3 separate regions of the Homo sapiens genome follow, and regions 1 and 2 are each linked to region 3. The links are contacts of gene promoters, found by promoter capture Hi-C in blood cells and fetal thymus (Javierre and others, 2016). All regions are on one chromosome and are shown on one strand. The core of a region is centred on a gene start or on the middle of the fragment in contact, and the rest is flanking DNA. Distances in the headings are between cores, read along the strand shown.

Region 1 (3,713 bases), core at 577-3,076, 160 kb before region 3:
GGAGGGGAGCCGAGCAGTGGGGACAGGAGGAGCCCGGGAAGGGTGCAGAGAAAGCCGCCCACGCTGCCCCTACGAGGCCGTGGTCTGGCGTGTCCTCACCTGTCTTTCAGGACTTGCCAGTTTATCTTGGGCTCTGCCAGCTCCATGAGCCTCCTCCGCCTCCTCCTCTTCCTTGCTTTGGTCATGGTGGTGCTGGGGAGCTTCTGGCTGATGGACAGCCGGCTTTGGGAGAATTCCACGTTGAAGTTGGAGCTGCTTTCCCGCCCCGATGCGTTTGGGAGCCCAGAGAAGCGTGGGTCTTGCTCAAGCGCCTTTTGTCTGCACTCACCCTGCCCACCCGCCTCTCCTTTCCCTCGAGGGGTCTCTGAGGGAGGACTTTGGCACCACGAAGGCCTGGACCAACCGCAGCTCCACTGCTCGCTGGATGGAAGACCCGTCCAGGTCACCTGTCTCCCCTGGTCCTCAGCTTCCTCCTCTGTGAATTGGAGGTGAGACCAGCTCCCACCTGGCGGGGCTGTTTTGGTGAGTACTAAGGTAGTGTTTACTCATCTCACAGACATCTGTCAAGTGCTTACTGTATGCCAGGCCCCAGAGGGGCAACCACCCTCTAAAGAGAGCGGCTCCTGCCTCCCAGAAAGCTCACAGACTGTGGGAGGGAAACAGGCAGCAGGTGAAGATGCCAAATGCCAGGATATCTGCCCTGTCCTTGCTTGATGCAGCTGCTGGCTCCCACGTTCTCCCCAGAATCCCCTCACACTCCTGCTGTTTTCTCTGCAGGTTGGCAGAGCCCCATGAGGGCAGGGCAGCCACTTTGTTCTTGGGCGGCAAACCTCCCTGGGCGGCACGGAAACCACGGTGAGAAGGGGGCAGGTCGGGCACGTGCAGGGACCACGCTGCAGGGAGGACGGGAGCCGAGTCCCAGAGGTATGTAGAGTGCGCGCCTTGCTGGGGACACTCCAGCAACTGCCCAAAATCAGCGCCCCCAGTGCTGATTGGCCGAAGCGTCAGTTCACCCAGAACGTGTTCCTCCCGACCATTTAAAACCTTTTAGCCACGTGTGGTGCTTAGAATGGTTTCAACTTTTGAGTTGGGAGGCTTTTTTTTTCCCATTTCTTATTCTCTCTGTCTGACTTGAGGCCATCACTCGCTAAACTCTGAACTCTGGGCACCTGAACTCAGTCTGCCTGACTCCAAACTCAGCGCTGTTTACTCCTCCTCCTGCCACCAGATAGGGGAGCGTCTGCTGGTGTCTGCCTCAGGGCCCAGTGAGGGGTGCTGGCCGCCAACCGACCAAGCCCACACCTAGGCTGACTCGGCAGGGCCGGGCCCCTCGGGAGCAGCGAGCCAGGCCGGTGGCCGGTTACGACCCTTTCGCCCGCCCAGGGGGCTGCTGCCCTCCCCCCACTGCCAGGGGCTGAGCCCTACCCCACCGCACCCAGGCAGGCCCGTTCCCCGGTGCCCACCTGATTTCAGGAATGTCCTCTTCCAAGTCCTTGTCCAGGACTCTCTCCAACTCAGAAAGTGCCTCTTTGGGATCCAGGGTCTCCGGGAACTCCTCCCCGGCCACCTCCTCGGGGGGAAGCTCCTCTTCTGGGTCTTCTGGTCCCAGCTCTGCATTGTCCAGGTCCTGGCGTTCGGGGTCTGTGACCCGCCGGCTCTCGTACACAGAGCTCTGGAGGCCACGGGGGTCGCCGTCCTGCTCCCTTTCCGACCTGCCCGCAGCCTCAGAGCTGGGCTGGTTCCCGAGTGACCTTCGCCTGCTGTCCCCCATACACCGGTCCCTTCCCAGCCCCCGCGGCCTCACTCTCCCGGCACCCAAATGTGTCTGTGGTGGCCGCGGCAACAGGAGAGCGTCCGTCACATTCCCCACGGTCCACATTCTAACCCGTGCGCCGTCTCCAATGCTGGTCACCTGGGCTTGCGCTGGGATCAGGACTCAGTCCTGGTGGTCACGGCTCACTCAGGACCTCCCAGGATTGGTTTAGGAAGGAGACCTGACGGGAACCTGCAGGGGCATCTAGCTATGGATTCCCTCTCTCAAAAGGAGACACAAGGAAGAGACCGCGTCTCCTGTTCCTGTCCCTGTGGGGCCCGTCGGTAATGTCCAGAGCCCAGGCAGCCTTCTTGTGACCATGAGGCCTGCCATCTGAGGGCAGATGAACTGAAAGGTGGGCCTTTGATGTGGCTGTCGAGCCTCTGAACTTAGCAGCCTTGGAATCCACTCTGTGTCCAGGCTTCTTGTTACTTGAAACAGTAAGTTTCCTTAGTACTAAGTCGTTTTGGCTTGGTTTCCAATTCCTAGCAGCTAAAACTGCACCCTAGGTGATACAGACGCTTCCAGCCCCAACCTCTCATGAGAAATAACTTCAAAATAGGCTGTTCCAACCCTCACAACAAAATAATGGTTATAACTGGAGTATTCCCCAGGCTGCTGCCTTCAGGAATTCCTCGTACGTCGCCAAAGGAGCTGAATTTCCAGCCTCTCCCCCTCTGTGCCCCACCCAGCCTCTCCCCCTGTGTGCCCCACCCAGCCTCTCCCCCTCTGTGCCCCACCCAGCCTCTCCCCCTCTGTGCCCCCACCCAGCCTCTCCCCCTCCGTGCCCCACCCAGCCTCTCCCCCTCCGTGCCCCACCCAGCCTCTCCCCCCCCGTGCCTCCACCCAGCCTCTCCCCCTCTGTGCCCCCACCCAGCCTCTCCCCCTCTGTGCCCCACCCAGCCTCTCCCCCTCTGTGCCCCACCCAGCCTCTCCCCCGTGTGCCCCACCCAGCCTCTCCCCCCTGTGCCCCACCCAGCCTCTCCCCCTCTGTGCCCCCACCCAGCCTCTCCCCCTCTGTGCCCCACCCAGCCTCTCCCCCTCTGTGCCCCACCCAGCCTCTCCCCCCTGTGCCCCACCCAGCCTCTCCCCCCTGTGCCCCACCCAGCCTCTCCCCCTCTGTGCCCCCACCCAGCCTCTCCCCCTCTGTGCCCCACCCAGCCTCTCCCCCTCTGTGCCCCACCCAGCCTCTCCCCCCTGTGCCCCACCCAGCCTCTCCCCCTCTGTGCCCCACCCAGCCTCTCCCCCTCTGTGCCCCACCCAGCCTCTCCCCCCCCTGTGCCCCACCCAGCCTCTCCCCCTCTGTGCCCCCACCCAGCCTCTCCCCCCTGTGCCCCACCCAGCCTCTCCCCCTCTGTGCCCCACCCAGCCTCTCCCCCTCTGTGCCCCACCCAGCCTCTCCCCCCTGTGCCCCACCCAGCCTCTCCCCCTCTGTGCCCCACCCAGCCTCTCCCCCTCTGTGCCCCCACCCAGCCTCTCCCCCTCTGTGCCCCCACCCAGCCTCTCCCCCTCTGTGCCCCACCCAGCCTCTCCCCCTCTGTGCCCCACCCAGCCTCTCCCCCTCTGTGCCCCACCCAGCCTCTCCCCCTCTGTGCCCCACCCAGCCTCTCCCCCTCTGTGCTGTGTGCCCCCACCCAGCCTTTCACCCTTCTGTGCTTGGTGGTTTTCTACTCATCATTGAAGACTCAAGCCTGTCGGTCCCCCACGCAGGGAGAGTCCCTGACCATCCCTCCCCTTTCTGGGCTCCCAGGCCTAGGACCCCCACCCCTACCCCCACCCAGTGCTAGCCCACCCCGAGGACTGCTCTGTCCCTCACCCCTGCCACCAGCGTGGGGCCGGCCCTCCGGGCATGGTGACCACTCGGCACGCAAGAGACCCAGTTCATCGACACACACAAAGC
Region 2 (3,604 bases), core at 574-3,073, 190 kb before region 3:
TTGTTGGTCCTAACCCACCCACGTCTCTCTCTGACCAGACTCTGCATCCCTGTAGGAGAGGCCCTGTCTGCTCCATTCACTCCCAGATCCTCAGGCCGAGGACAGAGCGGGACCTCCTTAGAAAATCAAATCAAATTCACTCAACAGGGCACCACCCCAAAGTGTAAAACAGGGTTAACAGGAGCAGCCGGACCACAAGCTGCTGTGCACATTTACGGAGCTCAGCCTAGAGCAGGGCAGAACAGCCACATGGCAGCTCTGGGGGAGGCTGGCTTGGGAGTCTGACTTGTGCCATCCCAGACACAGAGCTACCTGTCAGGCCACGTGTGTTGCCCAGATTCCAGGAGCACAACTCATTCGACCACCACGTCGCTGCAGGGCCACTGGGAGACGCGGCTTCTGCCTCCGACCCTGGAGGACAGCCACCATCTGCATGGGGACTCAGTCTCCCTAAGCGTCTCAAGAAGAACTAATTCTCGATGAAGGAACTGGCCGGTGGTCTGGCCTAGTATCGAGACACCTACACCGTCTTTGGCATAAACACAGGGCCTGTTACTGCCCCTGAGGTCGTCACCAGGGGGAGAGAATGGCCAGTCCTGCCTCCCACAACGCCCAAGACATAAACACGCAACGTGGCACCACGGCCAGGCCGCAGTTCCAATCCCGGCTTCCCACGAGGCGGCTGTGCCTGGCTGGGTGGGCACCTTTTCCTTTGGGCTCTATCCCAGAGATAGGATCAGCTCTTGAGTCTGCCCGCCTGTCGTAACTTCTGCGCACAGAAGTCATGCACTGAGTCCCACTGACTGAGCACCTCGCAGCCGCCGCACCTTCACCTACATTATCTCTTTCCATCTTCACCAGGGCCCTCCAAGGTGAAAGCAAGTCCACACAGGCTCATCCACCACTCCAAAATCAAAAAAAGCTTCAAAAGCGAAAGTTTCTTCCTTCCTGGTTTGACCTGACACGAAGCTATCTGTTGTCTTATCCTAGACAGTCCTAGGTGGGTTTGATCAAACATCACAGTCCAAAATCCCACAGATCCTCAAATTGGAAAAATTCTGGATTCCAAAATATAGCTGGTCCCAAACATTTCAGATAAAGGGTCCCGGGCTTGTTTCCTGGACGAGGGAGGAGGCTCCAGAAGTAACTTCGTGCCCGGGAGAGGCTGGTCCAACTCTTCTGAGATCAGCCCCGACGCTCTCTAGGCCCCGGCAGACCCACCCACCCTGCGCCCAGTTCGCGCCAGGCGGGTCCGCGTCGGGAGTTCAAATCCCGCCCGGGGTCTGACCCAGCCCCGCCGGGGGGCTCGCGGGCGGCGGAGGCGCGGTGGGTCCACCGGGATCCCGATGGGGAGCGCGGGGCGCCTGGCGGCCCCAGCACTCGGCAAAGTTGGCAAAGGCGCGGGAGGGGAGGCCTGCGCGCCGCGGGGCCCGGGCCGGGGCCGGGAACCGGAGCCGGACCCTGGAACGGAGCCGCGCGCCCACCGGACCCCCGACACCAGCCCCGCCCCGCGTCCCTCCCCTCCCCCACCCCGGCCCCCGCCCGCCCCGCGCCGCCGCGCATGCGCACTGCAGCCCGCGATGTGGCAGCCGGGGGAGTTGGGGGGTGGGGGCCGGCCGGGGGCGGCCGCCGATGGAGCCCCGCGCCCCTCCGGCCCCGGACGGGCCAGGCGCCCCGGCCGGCCTCAGAGCTCCAGAGCGGGGCTCTCCGTCCCTGGGGCCCACGACGAGGCCGAGCCACGGCGGCGGGGGGCGCGGACGCGCGGGGGCGGGGGGCCGGCTCCCCCGGCCCGCTCACTCACCTCCGCCATGGCCGTGTGTGCGCGGGAGGCGGTGGCCGCGCCGGGATCCCCGGATGAGGGGCCGCGCACTCATTGGCTGTGGAGCCTGGAGGGCGGGGCAGGGGGCGGAGCCTGGAGGGGGCGGAGAGCGGGCCGGGCGCGTAGTAGGTGCGCGGGCGCGGGCGCGGGCGCGCAGCCGAGCGTGGCCGGCGGCTTCTGGCGAGCTTGCGGTGTCTTTCCGGCCGTCTCTGCTGGACCCTGATCTTGGCCTTGGCCTTGGCGGAGGAGACTGCATTCCATAAAAATACGAATTCCTGATAATCACACCTGCGTGGGGACCACGTGGTCCTGTGTGACCTCTTCATTCCCTCGGCTGCTCGCTGTTAATACCCCGCGTGGCAGACTAGGAAACTGAGGCCCAGGGCGACGGGCCACCCAGAGTGTCAGTGATAGAGCCAGAATTGGTGTCCGGGCTGCGTGGTTCTGGAATTTTCTGCACTTTCGCACCCGTGATGAGCAAACTAGCGCGCGGAGGAACCAATCGGGGAGCTTGCGAACGCGCACCAGTCGGAGAGGTTTTAGAAACGGTGGCCCCGCGCCGGAGAGCCCAAGGCGGGAGGCAGGGAGGTGGGCTTGACCCCAGGGCCATTTGGTTCTGCAGTCCGTCGTTTCGCAGATTGAACATTTCTGGAACACGTGCACGTTCTGATCCTGAGGGTTTGAAGGAGACAGCCCTAACGCCTGTCTTCAGGGCGTTTAGAGTGGAGGATGGGAAGGCAAGGACTCGCCACACCTTAAATTTGAGACGGATAAGTGCCGTGAATCTTCGGGGCGCACGATGCAGAGAGAGGATAGGAAGCAGGGGTGGGGCGTGAAGAGGCAGGGGCCAGGTGGGAGCTGTGGGGCCTGGACCAGAGTGCAGAGAGACTTGAGAAGGTGGACACCACAAGACTCGCTGATGGAGGGAAGCTGGAGAGAGTGAAGGATGGCCTCCAGATGTCTGGCTTGCGCAAATGAGTGGAGGGCGGTTCCTACTGAGACCAGGAAGAAGAGAACTGGAGACCAGGAAGAAGGGAATTGGGGACCAGGAGGAAGGGAATTGGGGACCAGGAAGAAGAGAATGAGTCTCATTCCTGTTTCCCAGTGATCAGCCAATGAATAGTGAGAACTTGACATGCATCAGCCTTGATTCCTGATGCAAAATCATTACTCAGTCCTCTGAGAATTCACCAACCAAGAGATAGAAGAACCACTCTGGAGGGGTCTACCCTCACTCCTTTTTTGGTTTACATCATTGAGATTGAGGGTTCTGGCCCTCGTGTTGAAGAGTCCTCACTGATTTGTGCAAGAGTTGGTTCCTTCCTTTATTATTCATTTGTTATTATTCATTCAGTCATTCAGTGAACTAAACACATATCTTATGCAGTCCTCAACTGGGTGCTGGGTAGCCAGAGGTCCTGTGAAGCAGGGAGAAGCATGAACAGATAAGAGAGTGAGGTGCTGTGCTGTAACAGGTGGAGGGGCCCGAAGACAAGGGCTTGAGTCCACCTGGCAAAACGAGGGAAGACTCTTAGGAGAGGGCTTGGCAAGAATCATCACATAGATGTCAAATGAGGACTTGGGTGAAGAGAAGGGTATTGTGGCTTGGAACGGTGACTCACACCTCTAATCCTAACACTTGGGGAGGCAGAGGCAGGAGGATCACTTGAGGTCAGGAGTTTGAGACCAGCCTGGGCAACAGGGTGAAACCCTGTCTCTACTAAAAATACAAAAATTATCCGGGCGTGGTGGCGAGTGCCCATAATCCCAGCTATTCTGTGGAGG
Region 3 (3,985 bases), core at 20-2,519:
GGTGGGCTGGGCGCGGTGGCTCATGCCTATAATCCCAGCATTTGGGAGGCCGACGCAGACGGATCCCTTTATTAGTCCAAACTGCATCCTCCCCTTCCTTTCAAAACCTAACAACACACTTGAGGTCAGGGGTTCGAGACCAGCCTGGCCAACATGGTGAAACCCCATCTCTACTTAAAATACAAAATTAGCCGGACGTGGTGGCGGGCACCTGTAATCTCAGCTACTCGGGAGGCTGAGGCGGACACTAGCTTGAACCCGGGAGGCGGAGGTTGCAGTGAGATTGTGCCACTGCACTCCAGCCTGGGCCACAGAACGAGACTCTGTCTCATTTAAAAAAAAAAAAAAAAAAAAGACTCGGGTAGGACAAAGGTCAGGCTGGGAGGAGGGCACAGCCAGGCTCGGGCTCAGCTTGGGGTGGGGGCTCCGTGGGGCTGGCGCCTCTCCCGGGTCAGGTGCTGAGCCGATGCTGGCCGGCGTAGGCCTCTTTCCCAGTTTCTCTGGGGGGCAGGAGCACCTTGCCAACCTCTGATGGCTCCAGCGCCTGCACTCGCCTCACACCACATGGTGACTTCAACGGGGACCAGGGAAGCCCTCGCCCCTCCCACCCCTCAGAGCCCTCCCCGACCTCGCCCACTTCTCAGAGCTCCCGCTGTCGGGGGAACCGAGGCAGCGCCGCGCCTGGAAGCCAGGTCTGCGGATCCCGCCTCGCTCCCGCCCCTTCCTCCCTTCCGCGTGGCCAGCGCGACCCTAGGACAGACTTCGCGCCCGTCCCCTGCACAGACGGGGAAACGGAGACGGGGACGCGGGGTCGCGCCGGATGGACCGGCCCTGCCCCTCCGGTCCCGGTCAGGACCCCGCGCCGCGCCCCGTTCACCGCCCGCGGCCCCGCCCCGCGCCGGCACGTCACAAAACAACCCCAAAGCCGGGGGACCGGGCCGGTGACGGCGCAGAGCAGCCCTGCCCGCCTCCTTGCGCACAGCGTCCGCGGTGCTGGTCGAGCAGGGGGCGACGGCGGCGGCCTCGGGGATCGGAAGAGCCCGGGGCTGCGCGCTCGAACCCTCCCTCCCGGCGGAGGCGCTCGGCGCCGTAGGCGGGACCGGGGCCGGGACTCCACCTCCCGGCGTCCCCTGCGGCCGGGCGCGCAGGCGCAAGTCGGACCTGGCCGCGGAGCGCAGGCGCAGTCGGGGCCAGGCGGTGCGCGCAGGCGCAGCGGGGGGCGGGGCGCGCGGGCCCGGCCAAGGCAAGCGCCGGTGGGGCGGCGGCGCCAGAGCTGCTGGAGCGCTCGGGGTCCCCGGGCGGCGGCGGCGGCGCAGAGGAGGAGGCAGGCGGCGGCCCCGGTGGCTCCCCCCCGGACGGTGCGCGGCCCGGCCCGTCTCGCGAACTCGCGGTGGTCGCGCGGCCCCGCGCTGCTCCGACCCCGGGCCCCTCCGCCGCCGCCATGGCTCGGCCGCTAGTGCCCAGCTCGCAGAAGGCGCTGCTGCTGGAGCTCAAGGGGCTGCAGGAAGAGCCGGTCGAGGGATTCCGCGTGACACTGGTGGACGAGGGCGATCTATACAACTGGGAGGTGGCCATCTTCGGGCCCCCCAACACCTACTACGAGGGCGGCTACTTCAAGGTGAGCGCGGCGACCCCCGCCCGGGTCCCGGAGCCCACGAGCGACCTCGGGCGCCGGGAACCAGCTCCCTGCCCCGCGGTCCTAGCGCTGTTGCTGGGCGGGCCCCGAAGCCTCCTGGCTTGGGCTCGTTTCCCTTCTATGGCCACGTTCCCCCACCCAGCTCTGCCCGGCCCCCTCCTCGGACCGTCTCGGGGACCTTCAGCCTCTGCTGCAGTCCTCGAAAATCCCCAGTTCCCTTCAAGGCATCGTCCGGTCCCCTGTTAGGCTCTTGGCCCCCGGAGGGGTGGCCGGGGGCCCTCCCTGTAGCATCTGGGCGTGGGGCTCTTGCCCACCTCCTCCTTGGCGGGGGCTGGACCCCGGCTGCCTCCCCCTCCGCCCCTGCGAGAAAGAGGGAGCGGAGCCCAGGCCGCGCCGGCCTTTCAGCTGCCCTCCCCGCCCTCCCCGGAGGAGACAAAGAGGCCCCCCCAGACCCCGTAGCTGCTATTGTTGGGGAGCTGGGCCCGTGAGCGGGGGAGCGAGGCCAGCCTGGGGGTGGCTGGCGCGGCCACTCGCTCAGTCTCCAACAAAGGCCCGGATGAGCCTTGGCAGCCAGGACCCGCCTGGAAAGCGGCCACCCTTGCCAGTAGCAGCCGGCCAGGCGCCCTGGGCTCCATCCCCTGCTTTATGTAACCTGCGCCCTCGGGAAGGCCGAAGTAGGGGCGTGCCTCCCACCTGCTCCCTGCAGCTCTCTCCAGGCCTCCCGGCTCGGGCCCGCGTCCCGGACCCCGACCTCAGAAGCTCCGGGCTCGCTCATCCCAGCTGGTCTTGGCCTTTCTCAGAGTCCACTGAACAGGTGGCTTCTTGGGACCCAAACCCCGAGTTCTGGGCCGTTTCTTCTGCCCTCTGGCGGTTTAATTCCAAGCAGTTTCTGGATGTTTTTGTTGTTGTTGGGAGCGGGGAGGCTGTTTCTGTCTCATGTGAAAAGGACTCAGGCCAAAACCAGGGCAGTTTTCTTGATCTCACGATCCAGACGTGACCTTTGACTTCTTTTAGCGTTCAGGGACCTCGTTCTTGGGGCCAGAGGGACAAAGCGAGGGGCCCTGTGTGAGCGGTGGGGAACGAGCACCCTGTCCAGGAATCTCCCCCTCCCACCGTCACTTCCTGCCAAGAGCCTGGACACGACACGACACTGCAGGGCCCGGCCCGCTCTGCCCCGGCCAGCTGCGGGCGTGGGGCCGAGGGACCGATGCCTCCCGCACGATATGTGTCTGCTCTCCGAGCTAATTAGTGTCTGAACCGCACCCGCTCAGCGGCTGTGAGGGCAGCAGCCTGGTCTGCTGGGGGCGATTCCTGAGCAGAGAGTGGGACGCCCGTGGGTTCTGCATCTGGAATCCTGCGTCCCCACACAGGGAACAGAGTTTGGGTCTCGAGGTTGCCAAATGGTTTTAGCAGCTCCTCCGCCAGCCCCTTCTGTCTGCTTGGGGGAGCAGCTGGCTGAGGAGCCGCAGCCCCACCTCGAAGCCAGGCCTGTGAGGCGGCTGCTGTTCTGGAAGGAGGGGATGGGGGTTTCTGGCTGCTGTGCCCACCAGACCGGTTGCCAGGGATTGTGGGCAGAGCTTCCTGGGCCAGCATTAGGGGATAATCCGGTTTTCCGGATTTCCCAGGGAGGGGGCCTCTAGACATCTGCCACAGGGTCAGTCCTCAGAAGCCAGTGTTGAGACGGGGGTGCTGCCACCCACGAGGACTCTCCCTTCCCGCTGTGCCTGGGAGGGAGTTGGGGGAGCGTGGAAATACAGAACCTGCTGAGTGCCCAGGGCCGCTGCTGCCCAGCCACTGCCTGCAGCTGCTGTTCCTTCAGGAGCCAAAGTGAGCCCTGGGGCAGGGGCCGCCAGAGAGAGCCCTCCACAGCCGACTTGCTGTCTGCCCTTGGCAGGGCGCTTTCCTTTTCTGAGCCTGGGTTTGCTCCGGGGAAAAGACATTCTTAGAGGTGCCCAAAATAAGAGGCTCATTGGGACTTGGTGGGGTTTGGTACAGATGAGGCCTTGGCTGTTGTCAAGGATTGCCGCCTGAAACCCAGCACCAGGCTTGGGGGGCCTGAAGTCTTGGGGAACCGCAGGACAGTTCTGAGACTGAAGTTCCAGCCTTGCTCTGTGGCCGCGGCCAAGTCACTTGCCTTACGGGGCACCAGTGAGTTCCCTGTCAAACAGAGGACACCCCCCAAGACACCCCGCGTGCCCTCCCTGTCCAGGAGGGGCCCGTCCACGATCCAAGACCCCCAAAGTGCCCTGCCTGTCCGGGAGGGGCCTCGCCCACAATCCAAGACCCCCGAGTACCCTCCCTGTCCAGACCTCGCCCACGATCCAAGACCCCCTGAGTGCCCTCCCTGTC

The links. Contacts are between HindIII fragments. The CHiCAGO score rates a contact against its expected background, and 5 or more counts as called.
Region 1: the fragment with the promoter of SPMAP2 here is called in contact with the fragment with the promoter of CDC34 in region 3 in 1 of 17 cell types (naive CD8 T cells); the score reaches 5.2 in naive CD8 T cells.
Region 2: the fragment with the promoter of MIER2 here is called in contact with the fragment with the promoter of CDC34 in region 3 in 2 of 17 cell types (naive CD8 T cells and total CD8 T cells); the score reaches 9.2 in naive CD8 T cells.

Annotation. Positions count from the first base shown.
Region 1 is chr19:374,200-377,912 of GRCh38, forward strand. It overlaps SPMAP2 (sperm microtubule associated protein 2), which reads right to left and starts at 1,827. Exons shown (of 8, transcript NM_016585.5): 1 at 1,464-1,827; 2 at 100-222. The coding sequence starts at 1,771. The HindIII fragment of the contact is 8,842 bases long and covers 1-3,713 here.
Region 2 is chr19:342,973-346,576 of GRCh38, forward strand. MIER2 (MIER family member 2) reads right to left here and starts at 1,824. Exons shown (of 14, transcript NM_017550.3): 1 at 1,802-1,824. The coding sequence starts at 1,810. RefSeq lists an enhancer at 1-880 and silencers at 1,189-1,298, 1,599-1,648, 1,719-2,168. The HindIII fragment of the contact is 25,759 bases long and covers 921-3,604 here.
Region 3 is chr19:530,491-534,475 of GRCh38, forward strand. It overlaps CDC34 (cell division cycle 34, ubiquitin conjugating enzyme), which reads left to right and starts at 1,270. Exons shown (of 5, transcript NM_004359.2): 1 at 1,270-1,618. The coding sequence starts at 1,442. RefSeq lists silencers at 775-1,514, 1,935-2,104 and enhancers at 1,311-1,967, 2,365-2,414, 2,485-2,644, 3,627-3,985. The HindIII fragment of the contact is 9,081 bases long and covers 1-3,985 here.